Regions from separate parts of the Homo sapiens genome. Here all the other regions are linked to region 3. The links are contacts of gene promoters, found by promoter capture Hi-C in blood cells and fetal thymus (Javierre and others, 2016). All regions are on one chromosome and are shown on one strand. The core of a region is centred on a gene start or on the middle of the fragment in contact, and the rest is flanking DNA. Distances in the headings are between cores, read along the strand shown. Region 1 overlaps EEFSEC (eukaryotic elongation factor, selenocysteine-tRNA specific). Region 2 overlaps EEFSEC (eukaryotic elongation factor, selenocysteine-tRNA specific). Region 3 holds the start of DNAJB8 (DnaJ heat shock protein family (Hsp40) member B8). Region 4 overlaps RUVBL1 (RuvB like AAA ATPase 1).

What was found. Contacts are between HindIII fragments. The CHiCAGO score rates a contact against its expected background, and 5 or more counts as called.
Region 1: a fragment that was not itself captured here is called in contact with the fragment with the promoter of DNAJB8 in region 3 in 1 of 17 cell types (endothelial precursors); the score reaches 6.7 in endothelial precursors.
Region 2: a contact is called between a fragment that was not itself captured here and the fragment with the promoter of DNAJB8 in region 3, in 3 of 17 cell types (endothelial precursors, megakaryocytes and erythroblasts). The highest score is 7.9, in endothelial precursors.
Region 4: a contact is called between a fragment that was not itself captured here and the fragment with the promoter of DNAJB8 in region 3, in 1 of 17 cell types (fetal thymus). The highest score is 5.3, in fetal thymus.

What each region holds. Positions count from the first base shown.
Region 1 is chr3:128,201,515-128,204,214 of GRCh38, reverse strand. All of the region lies in intron 1 of EEFSEC (eukaryotic elongation factor, selenocysteine-tRNA specific), which reads right to left. Among named protein-coding and RNA genes, the nearest start is that of EEFSEC, 49 kb to the right of the region's middle. The HindIII fragment of the contact is 2,019 bases long and covers 378-2,396 here.
Region 2 is chr3:128,162,816-128,165,515 of GRCh38, reverse strand. All of the region lies in intron 1 of EEFSEC (eukaryotic elongation factor, selenocysteine-tRNA specific), which reads right to left. Among named protein-coding and RNA genes, the nearest start is that of EEFSEC, 11 kb to the right of the region's middle. The HindIII fragment of the contact is 1,356 bases long and covers 773-2,128 here.
Region 3 is chr3:128,465,614-128,468,313 of GRCh38, reverse strand. DNAJB8 (DnaJ heat shock protein family (Hsp40) member B8) reads left to right here and starts at 1,424. Exons shown (of 3, transcript NM_153330.6): 1 at 1,424-1,700. The region is part of intron 2 of DNAJB8-AS1 (DNAJB8 antisense RNA 1); the gene reads right to left. The HindIII fragment of the contact is 7,883 bases long and covers 1-2,169 here.
Region 4 is chr3:128,088,270-128,090,969 of GRCh38, reverse strand. All of the region lies in intron 8 of RUVBL1 (RuvB like AAA ATPase 1), which reads left to right. Among named protein-coding and RNA genes, the nearest start is that of RUVBL1-AS1, 14 kb to the right of the region's middle. The HindIII fragment of the contact is 4,504 bases long and covers 1-2,700 here.

The DNA of each region.
Region 1 (2,700 bases), core at 138-2,637, 260 kb after region 3:
TTAAGATCCCAAAACAAGCAAGTGATGGAGCCAGGATTCAAGTAGTATGGTGCTAGAATCTGTGCTCTTAATAGTTTTATTCCGTGACACTGTCCAGAATCTTCTATATTCCTTCCTTACAAAAGTTAACCACTGTTTACAAAGGACTTGTTCCTTGGGAATACATCACTTAATCTTAGAATATGCAAGTCACTGAGAAAATAGGACTCACTTCACAGAGCTGCTTTGCAGCCCACTTAGAGAACTATCTAATACAATACTCCTATAAATAACTCTAGTGTTTCATTTACATTTGGTAACCATGTTTCCTGTTAAGAATTCCTGGGATTATTGATTTATTCCAAAACCAGGTTTCCTATCTAATGGAATGCCAAGCTTGATATTCAACTGGCCAAGTATAACAGTGGCTCAATTATTAAATCAATAAGATAGGTGGTATCAATTAATGGATTATCCTGGAAACTTCTGTTACAACTTTATCCTCAAAGCTCACACTCACTCCAAAATGTAGATATCCTCATGTTGCATGATAAAAAAAGGTAGATACTGCCTGGGAAAAGTCCACCAGCTTTGAGGGCTAGCAGACCTGGCTCCAGCCTCGTTTCTGCCCCTACTCATGTCACCTGCAGCAGATGATTTACTTCCTACAGACCTCCATCTCCTCAGTGCTGTGGACTCACACCTAACACATGCAGGTGATCTAGCCCAGTGCCCGCACACAAGGGAGGTGGCTGACAGTGCTGGCTGACATTTGCCTTCCTTATTCCTGGACTTGTGTCCATCCCCTTCCTCTGCCATCGCCAACACTCATCATCTTCCTCTGCCCAGGTGGAAACAATGACATCACTTTAAGGAAATAGCCTATCATGATTTAAGATCATGAATTAGAACACACCTGAAGGGAAATGTGAATGGCTTGGACTTTGCCATGATATAAGCATCACTAAATGGATAAAAATCAAATCACTTCCGTCAACAAATTCCATTAGGAAGTTGCTGATGAAACAAAGACTTTGCCATTCCTGCTGTTTCACAAATTGTCTCAAATTGCCAACATTTGGGTGTAACCATTCATTTATACTATCTACAATCTGTATTCTACCAACTGATTGATCCATGGGCCAAATAATCCATTCCTGGAAAATAAAAATCTACATGAACATGTTAAAACCATGTTAAAAAATATATTGGGTGAGGCTGAGGTAATGTTTAGAGGGAAATTTATAGCTTTTTATGTTTAATATTCAAAAAAATCAATCAGTATAATTCCCCACACTAACGGAATGAAGAAGAAAAACTATAAAATCATTTCAGTGGATGCAGAAAAAGCACTTGACAAAATTTAACAACCACTCCTGATAAAACCATTCACCACACTAGGAACAGGAGGAATTTCCTCAACACAGTAAAGGATGTGTATGGAAAAACCCACAGCTAACACCATACTTACTAGAGAAATATGAAATGATTTGTCACCATGATCAGAACGAGGCAAGGATGTCCACTCTCACCACTTCTACTCAACATTTTACTGGAAGTTGTAGCCAGTGTAATAAGTTAAGAAAAAGAACATAAAGGTTAGAAAAAGGTATAAAGAGTAGAAACAAAGAAGTAAAACTATCTTTATTCTTAGCTGACATGATTTTTTATGTAGGAAATCCTAAGGAGTCTATAAAACAACCACTAGGACTAATAAGAAGGTTTAGCAAGGTTGCAAGATACAAGATGAATATACATAAACTAATTATGTTAATATATTAGCAACAAATTAAAAATATCATTTATGATAGCATCAAAATACATAAAATACTTAGAAATAAATTTAACAACATATGTACAAGACCTCTATACTAAAAACTTAAAAATACATAAGTGAAGAGATGTGCTAAGTTCATAGATTGGAAAACTCAATATTGTTAAGAGTCAGTTTTCCCTCGATTGAGCTATAGTATAGATTCAATGTAATCCCAATCATAATCCCAGGATTTATTTTTTTTGTAGAAATTGAAAAGCTGCTTCTAAAATTTATATGGAACTACAAAGGATCAAGAATATTCAAAGCAATACTGGAAAAGAACAAAGTTGGAGGACTTACACTACTTGACTTCAAAACTTACTTTATAAAGCTACTAATAAAGACAGTGCGATATTGGTGTGAAGACAGACAAACAAATCAAAGTACAATAGAGTCCAGAAATAGACCTACACTTAAATGGTTATGTGATTTTTCACAAAGGCAACAAAACAATCTAAAAAACTTTTCAAGAAATGATGCACTGGAATAAATGAATAGCCATACGGAAAAAAATCTACTTTGACCCCCATCTCACACCACATACAAAAACTAATTCAAGATAGATTACAGGACTAAATGCAAACGCTAATGTCATTAAGCTTTTTAGAAGGAAACTGAGTAGAATGTCTTCATAACTTGGTGGTAAGCAAAGTTACTTAGAACATAGAAAGCAGTAACTACAACAGAAAAAAGTGATAAATTAGACTTCATCAAAACTTTTGGTTATCAAAAGACACCATTAAGAAAACAAATAGGTAAGCCATAAATTGTCAGAAGGTATTCACGACACATATATCTGACAAAGGACTGATAAGTAGGTTAAAGAACTCCTATAACTCAACAACAAAATAATTTTTTAAAATCTAATAAAAAATAGGCAAAAGATTTGAAAGCTGCTTCACAAA
Region 2 (2,700 bases), core at 201-2,700, 300 kb after region 3:
ATTAACTAAGTCCTCCCTACCCACCCAACAAAGGCCACTTCAAAGCAGCAGGAGCCTAATCACACAGCACAAGAAAATAAAAGACCCAATTAACAAAAGACAAAAACTCAAATAATCGAGGGGAGAATAGAAGCAGAAATCTCTATTTTTGACAATTTGATTTATATATAAAGTGTTCCTCAGGAGCCACAATTTTCTATGGAAGCAGGCATGTGCTAAGGTCTGAGAGCAGCTTCTGGGCAAAGCCAGGGCCTCTGAAACAGAGCCTGGCACTGGCTACTTGTGCGCCCTGCAGCAAACTGCCTACTGCTCAGAGCCTCATTTCTAGTAGCTGAGCAATGTAGATGGAAACGCCTCCCTAGGAGACTGGCTGGGAGGATGCAGCAAGAGCCACGGGTCTAGAACAGTGTCCAGCAGACAGCAAGCGTTCTCCAAAAGTCCATTCTTTCATCTCCCTCCAAGAGGCAGAACTATCCCTTGGCCACTGCTCAGCACTGCCATGTCTGCAACCCCAGAGCCCCACTTTCCCTGCTGATGGCATCCGCCTTGCCTGCCTGAGGTGTCCTTCCTCTTCTCCTTCATCCAGCTGGGTCAGAAAGCTGAAGCTGGAATGATGAGAGGAATGACAGGCCCTAGGACCACTTGTCACAGTCCTCTCCTCAGACTCAGGGAGCTCACTAAAAGCCACCAGAAGCTTAAAACCTACCAGCCTTCCTCCCAGAAGAGACTCTCCCGGCTCCTGAGATCTGGTCCGGGCTACCCTCTGGAAGCTTGGCCTGATACCCCAGTCACACTCCAGCCCTCCCTTTGTCTCTAGGTCCTTGTTTACTCTGAGTCCTCTAGCTGGAATGCCTCCCATCTTCTAAAATGTAATATCTCAACCATCCTTCACAATTCCCACAAGCCAGTTGGACTGGCCTGTGACCCAGCCAACCTGGCCGCACCTCCTTTCACACCCCCCTGTGTGCAAGTGCCAGCCACCCTGACCACTCCCCTTCTTTAGCCAGGGCTGCTTCCATGCCTCTGGACTCTGCTAAGGCTGTTTCCTGGATCTCTCAGCCTGGAAATCCACAGGTCATCCTTCCAGGCCCAGCCGTGTGTCTCCTCCAGCAGGATTCCCTATCTGCCACCCCAGGCAGGTACTCACATTTCTATGCCCATCTCGATCAAAGCCCTTACCACTCCACATCTTAAACTGGCTGCTGGCACTGCCTGGCTTCCTCCTCCCTACTCGGGACTGTGAGCCCCTTGAACACAGGCACGACTGTGTATCTGCCCTCACGTCCAAAACAAAGCCATGCAACGTGTATGTGTAGAATCTCTGAGTGAGTGGAGAAAAACACCAAATGCAGCTCCATGTGGTCCTTTCCCACCACACAAGCTGCCGAAAGCCCTTAAAACAAGGCCTACCAGCCCAAATGTCTCCATGGGCCAGGCACATCACAGAAAGAGGAGGCAGCCTGAGGAGCACATGCCACACACTGTACACTTAAGATGGCTAAGATGGCAAATTGTACATTATTTATACTTTACCACAAGTAGAAATCAATAGAAATAGTTTTGTTTTTTTTTTTTTTCACAAAAAAATGCAATACTGGTTCCCAAAGCATATGCTCGCTTTGGGAGGCTGAGGCAAGAGGACTGCTTAACTTCAGGAGTTCAAGACCAGCCTGGGCAACATAGGAGGCCAAGCAAAAGTCGCCAGACAAAAAGGCCACATATTGTGTGATCTACTTATATGAAATGTCCAGGACCGGTCAATCCAGAGACATTAAGTAGATTCGTGGTTGCCTAGGCCTGGGAGAGGGGCGAATGGGGAATGACTCCTGGTAGGGATGTGGTTTCTTTATGGGGTGACGAAAATGGTCTAAACTGAGATTGTGTGATGACAGCTACACAACTGTATGAGTACAGTGAAAACCACTGAGTGTTCACTTAGTGTACACTCAGTGAAATGGGTGAATTTTATGGTATGTAATTTACATACCATAAAATTATTTTAAAAAATTATATAAACACTATATAAAATTAAAAATGTTTTTAAAATTATTATCTGCTGTATGCCAGGCTCTGGGTTGGCCCTAGACCTACAGAGATGATTCAGATATTGTCTCTACCCCATCAAGCTTCCAGGCTAATGGAAAGAGGAGACATGGAAACCAGCCATTGGAGTGAAGTGTTCACACCAAGAGGGATGCATGCTGTGCAACCAAGTCCAGAGCCTAGAAGAACGAGGACTCACTCCAGCTCCCTATCCTACCATGAGGCTGCCTCAGAAGTGCCAGGCTCTACCCCCACCAAGACTGGGCCTCCAAGATACCCAGAGTACCAGAGCTATAGATACCATCATTTTCCGCACATCAAAGCCTTTACTGGTAAAGGGGACACAGAATTGAGCTCTTAAGGTAAGAGTATCTCATCCCCAGCCTGGTTGAGGCTCCATCAAACAAAAGAATGACAGAAAGGGGAATATGTCTTAGGGCTTAATTTATGGGTTGTTTCCTGGGATGCCTGCCCGAATCCTATTCCAACCTGGATGGAATGATTCCGAAGAAAAACCCAAGAGACATGCTGATAGAAAACAAAGGGGATGCTCAGTGAAAAGTTTAAAAGCAATTAATTTTAAATGATTACAGCTTTACCGAAAGCTGTGGCTATGATTTCCTTCTGACTTTGATTATAACCTTCCAGCAAAATATT
Region 3 (2,700 bases), core at 175-2,674:
TCCTTCTCTCCCTGGCCATGGCTCGGGGTTGGCTTTAGGGTGGGCCTGAGATGAGGGACATGGGACATCTGAGGCCAGGAAGCCTAGGCTGGCTCCCCAGAGAGGGCAAATCCCCAAAAGCACCCACTGGTGAATGAGGACAGAGAGGCTTGAAGAGGGGAGGTGGCCTGACAGAATTGACGGTGGAGCGTGTGGGGCCTAAGTGTGCGCTCATGCCTGTGTGTCCCTGTCCCTCCAGCAGGCCCTATGGAGGCCTCAGAGCCCCTGATGCTCCCCACTGGCTCCCCAAAAACTGGCGTGGAAGGAGACTAGCCTGAACCCTTTGCAGAAGGGAAACTCCTCTGCACACTGCCCGGCTCCACGGTCCACAGCTCCCTTCATGGGGAGCTCCCCACAGGGGCCTCCATCTCAGGATGCCCTTGATGGTGAGGTGTGGGACCTGCTCCCAGGTGACACACCTGTTCCCGTAAGTCCTACCGAGTGGTCTGTTCTGTGTGCCCTAAGACAGCCCTGAATGGGCGGCAGTGAGGGGGTCTCCAGCCCTGTCTCCATCCTGGCTGACTCCCACAGACCCATCCCAGGAACAAGGGTTGGAGCAGGGCAGTGGCTGGAAGAAATTTCCCCTGGGAGTACAACGCAGACCAGAGCCAGGGTCTCCAACAAGGCAGGGAGGGCCAGGACGGGGAGGCGGCCACAGGATTCTTGGATGCCTCATCATACTAGGTCCTTTGTCTCTTAACATTGTTTTCACCACCCCTCCTCCACTGTCCTGATTCCATCGTCATGGAAACTTCAGGCTTCACCTTTACAATGTCAGGCCACCAACACCCTCAGCAGTGTCACCATCACCATCAACACCCCAGCGTCCCATCCCCATCTCCTCTACCACTGCCACCAGCCCCACTATCACTATCATCTCTGTCACCGTCACCACGGTGCTCTCCACCCGTGTCAGCATTGTGTCACCACCACATCACTGTCACCACACTTCCTCCACCTCCATCTCCACCCACCATCCCATCTGTGACATCACCTTATCAGCTCTGCCACCAGTATCAACCACTCACACCGCCTTTGCCATCACCACCGTCATTGCCCCCTCTACTACCACCACCATCACCACCACCGGGTCTGCCTCAGCCAGACCCACCACTGCCTCTAATTAGACTGCCACCATCATCACTGCCACCACCACTGCCCCTCCAATGCCTTCCTGATGTCACCATCTGCTTTCTCTCTGCTATCCTCACACCCAACTCCATCACAACCACCACCTTCATCTGAGCCGCCATCACCCTCACAGTACACAGCCCTCAAATGTGTACCAAGGAGGAGGACATTTACTACACGCTGCACCCTGAACAGTCTGGGACCAGCGGTCAGGGAACAAGGAATCGAGATGCTCACCTGCAGCTCCCAGGTGAGCGGCTCTCTAGAGCTTGCCTGGGAGCTGCTGAGGAGCTCACGGTATTCCAGGAAGCTCCCCATCCATGCCTCAGCCTGTGGCTCAGAAGCAGGGTCTTCGCAGAAGATTGCCCCGAGCTGTTGCAAAGCTCACCATTGTCACCTGCCTGCAACGGCCTCTCTTTTCCACTCTCCAAATCCCTTGTATTGGCAGGCTCTAGTCTGGAATTATACCGGTGATGGGATTCTGGAAAATCCCTCAGATTTCTCCAGGATGCAAGGAGACCATGGAAGAGGTTGGTGTAATGCCAAGTTAGCAACAGAAAATACAGAGCCCCACACCTCAGTGCCATCACCATCGCCATCGGCACTCACACCAGCATGTCCACCACTGTGTCCTTCTCACCCCTCGGCACCCCCCTCTACCATTGCCTCTTCCACAACCACCCTCACCACCATCCTCCATTAATAGCACAATTCCTGCCTCCTATCCCATCACCACCACGGGTGTCCCCGGCACCAGCAGCACCAACACTGCTCCCAGCAGAGCCATCGTTACCAGCCCCGCTGTCAGTCCCATCTTGAGCATCTGGCATATGTTGGAGAACTGCTCACTCCCTCTTCCCCATGGGAATCTCAGGCCTCTCTTCCTATTGCCCTGAGATTTGCAGAACCTTCCTGAAGGAAACATTCTTTGCCCCATGGATACTGGCCTTGACCATGGGATGCAGCAAGACTGCCACACATCATGGCCCAACAGAAGCTTTCAGAGGCAGCCCAAGTTCCTGCTGTCTCTGAGTGGCACTGTCATGAGAGAGGGGTGTGCAGGTCAGAGCTGATTCTCCAGCCTGGGACCCACAGTGAGAAGCTATGGGAGGTGGGGCCCTGGCAGCTGCCTGTAGGCACCAGTGAGTGAAGTGGGGGGAACTAGATGTTTGTCGTGAGCCACTGAGAGGTGGAAGCTGTCACTGTGGTATAGCCGAACAAGATACAACCTCTGCTACCTCCACCACCTTCACCTTCATCATCACCATTACTGTCACCACTGCCAACCACACCAATGGCTCACTAGGAGCCATTCCCATCACCTCCTCATCATACCTGCACCATCACTGCCAACCACAACAAAGGCTCGCTGTTACCATCTCCTCTGGCATGACCATCACCACCACCACTACCATCATCAATTACTCTCAAGCACAAGCCTTGCTGCTGTCACCACCAGCATCACCATCATCATGATCAACTCCACCATCACCCATAATTACTCTCCCCCTCACACCCACCATGACCATT
Region 4 (2,700 bases), core at 36-2,535, 380 kb after region 3:
AGTTTGATTTGGGAGTACTTTATTTTTCTCTAACCTTTTCTTCTTTAAACTTTTTATGTTTGTTGTGATTTATCATGGGTGGTGTAGAATTTTGGATATTTTTGTCCTTGGGATATTTTAATGTGGCAAAATTGAGATCTTAGGATTTCCTCAAAATTACCAAAAGAATTCTCAAATAAGACTTAAAAAACACTTATGGCCTAAATAGAATTAAAAAACTAAAAATTAAATGTAGTTTTAAAAGGTTATTTTGCTTAATGTGAAGGTTCCAGGCACACCAAATACTGAGATTTGAATCATGATAGAATTTCATCTTTATAATTCTTCTTAATTTTAAAAAGACATTCGTTGCTGGAAAAAGATAAGTTTTCTCTAAAGTTAACTTAATACTTGTATTTCCTATTAGTTTGTTTCCATATTTACTTTGAAGATTTTAATTTTTTTTTGTTTTGAGACGGAGTCTCACTCTGTCACCCAGGCTGGAGTGCAGTGACACGATCTCGGTACACTGCAAGCTCCGCCTCCCGGGTTCACGCCATTCTCCTGCCTCAGCCTCCCAAGTAGCTGGGACTACAGGCGCCCGCCACCACGCCCGGCTAATTTTTTGTATTTTTAGTAGAGACGGGGTTTCACCGTGGTCTCAATCTCCTGACCTCGTGATCTGCCCGCCTTGGCCTCCCAAAGTGCTGGGATTACAGGCGTGAGCCACTGCGCCCGGCTGATTTTAATTTTTTTACATTAGATTTAACAATTCATTAATGTAGCATTTTATTCTCTTTTTGAATTGTTTTTATTGTGGTAAAATGTGTGTAACATAAAATTTGCCATTTTAACCATTTTTAAGCATACAATTCATTGGCATTAATGACATTCACAGGGTGGCATGACCATCGCCACTATTTCTAAAACCATCACCACTATTTCCAAAACTTTTTCATCACCTCAAAAACAGAAACTCTGTAACCATTAAGCATGAAGTCCCAACCCTTCCTCCCCTTAGATCCTGGTAACGTCTCATTTATTTCTGTGTTTTTTTTTTTTTTTTTTTTTTTTTTTTTTTGAGATAGGGTCTCACTCTGTCACCCAGGCTGGAGTGCAGTGGCATAGTCTTGGCTCACTGCAACCTCTTCCTCCTGGGCTCAAGCGATTCTCATGCCTTAGCTTCCGGAGTAGCTGGGATTACAGGCATACACCACCAGGCCTGGCTAATTTCTGTCTCTATGAATTTGCCTACTATAGATATTTCCTATAAAGAAACCAGAAAATATTTGTTCTTTTGTCGGTGACTTATTTCACTTTGCATGTTTTCAGGGTTCATCCTGTGCTAGCATGTATTTTGTTTGCATTTTATTTTTGCAGTCATAAATATGCATTTTTATACCTCAACTGGATAGAATTTAAACAGGTAGATTTTATTTTTACTAAAGTTAAATTTTTAGCATGCTTACTTGTTTTTGAAACCAAATATTCAGATACTAACAAATCCAGTTGACATGACTAATTCTTTGTTATATTGATTACTTATAACCATAGACTGTACAATCCTGCACAAGTTTAAGAATGCCAGAAGTGTAGCCTTTCTGCTGTTAGGACCCCCAGAGGCCAAGGCAGAAGCCTACAGCACTTGGGCCCTCCAAACACTAGCTGAAGGCTGGCCCCATGTGCCACCAGTGGCTGCGCAGGGCACCTCAGGGTCTGGTGGGTTGGCAAGGTTCCTCCCTGGGGTGTTATTCCTATGGCTTGGCTAAGGGTTCAAGAGAAAAATAGGCAAAAGATGGGATTGGACCCTTCTCAAAAAGAAGTAAAATAATATATATAAGGGAATACATTCAAATGCCTCATTAGTAATCAAAGAAATGCAAACTTAAGGTGTTACCTTTCCCTCTTTTTCTAAACTGTTGAAATAGCAAAATATTTCAGAATGAGAATACTCGGTAGTGCTATGATCCTGTGAGATTAGATAACTCATGTGTAGCTCTATAAATTAGGATAGTTATTCATTCAAGTAGCTATTCAGGGTTCTGTCAAGCACTACAACAGTTGCTAAGGAAATGCTTATGGCTGTATGCATCAAATTATCAAAATATCAATAAAAATAATAGCAACAATTGGAAACTACCTAAATGCTCAACAATTTGGGTTAAGTAAAATATTTAATGGATTGTTAAGTAAATATTAAACATAATTATTAAGACTGTTGCAAGCCAGGTGCAGTAGCTCACGCCTGTACTCCAAGCTACTCGGGAGGCTGAGGTGGGAGGAGCCCTTGAGCCCAGGAGTCCAGGGCTGCAGTGAGCTAGAATCATGCCACTGCACTCCAGCCTGGGCCACAGAACAAGACCCAGTCTCAAAAACAAAACAAAACAAGGAGACTGAAGCAACATGAAAAAAAACAAAAAAAACTTGCATACTTAGTATAATTTGTAAAATTATACTATAGAGTATAATTAGTATACACTATATATTATACTATAGGGCATAATTAGTATATACTATATATTATACTATAGAGTATAATTAGTATATACTATAATATAGTATATACTGTATATTATACTATATAATTTGTTTATATATGAATGTTTGGCAAATATCTAGATGATTATTTTTGAGTATGATTTTAGTTATTTTTTTCCTCCTTCCCAGTTTTGCTATGATATTGATGATTACCAAGATAAATAAGTTGGTTTTTTTTTTTCT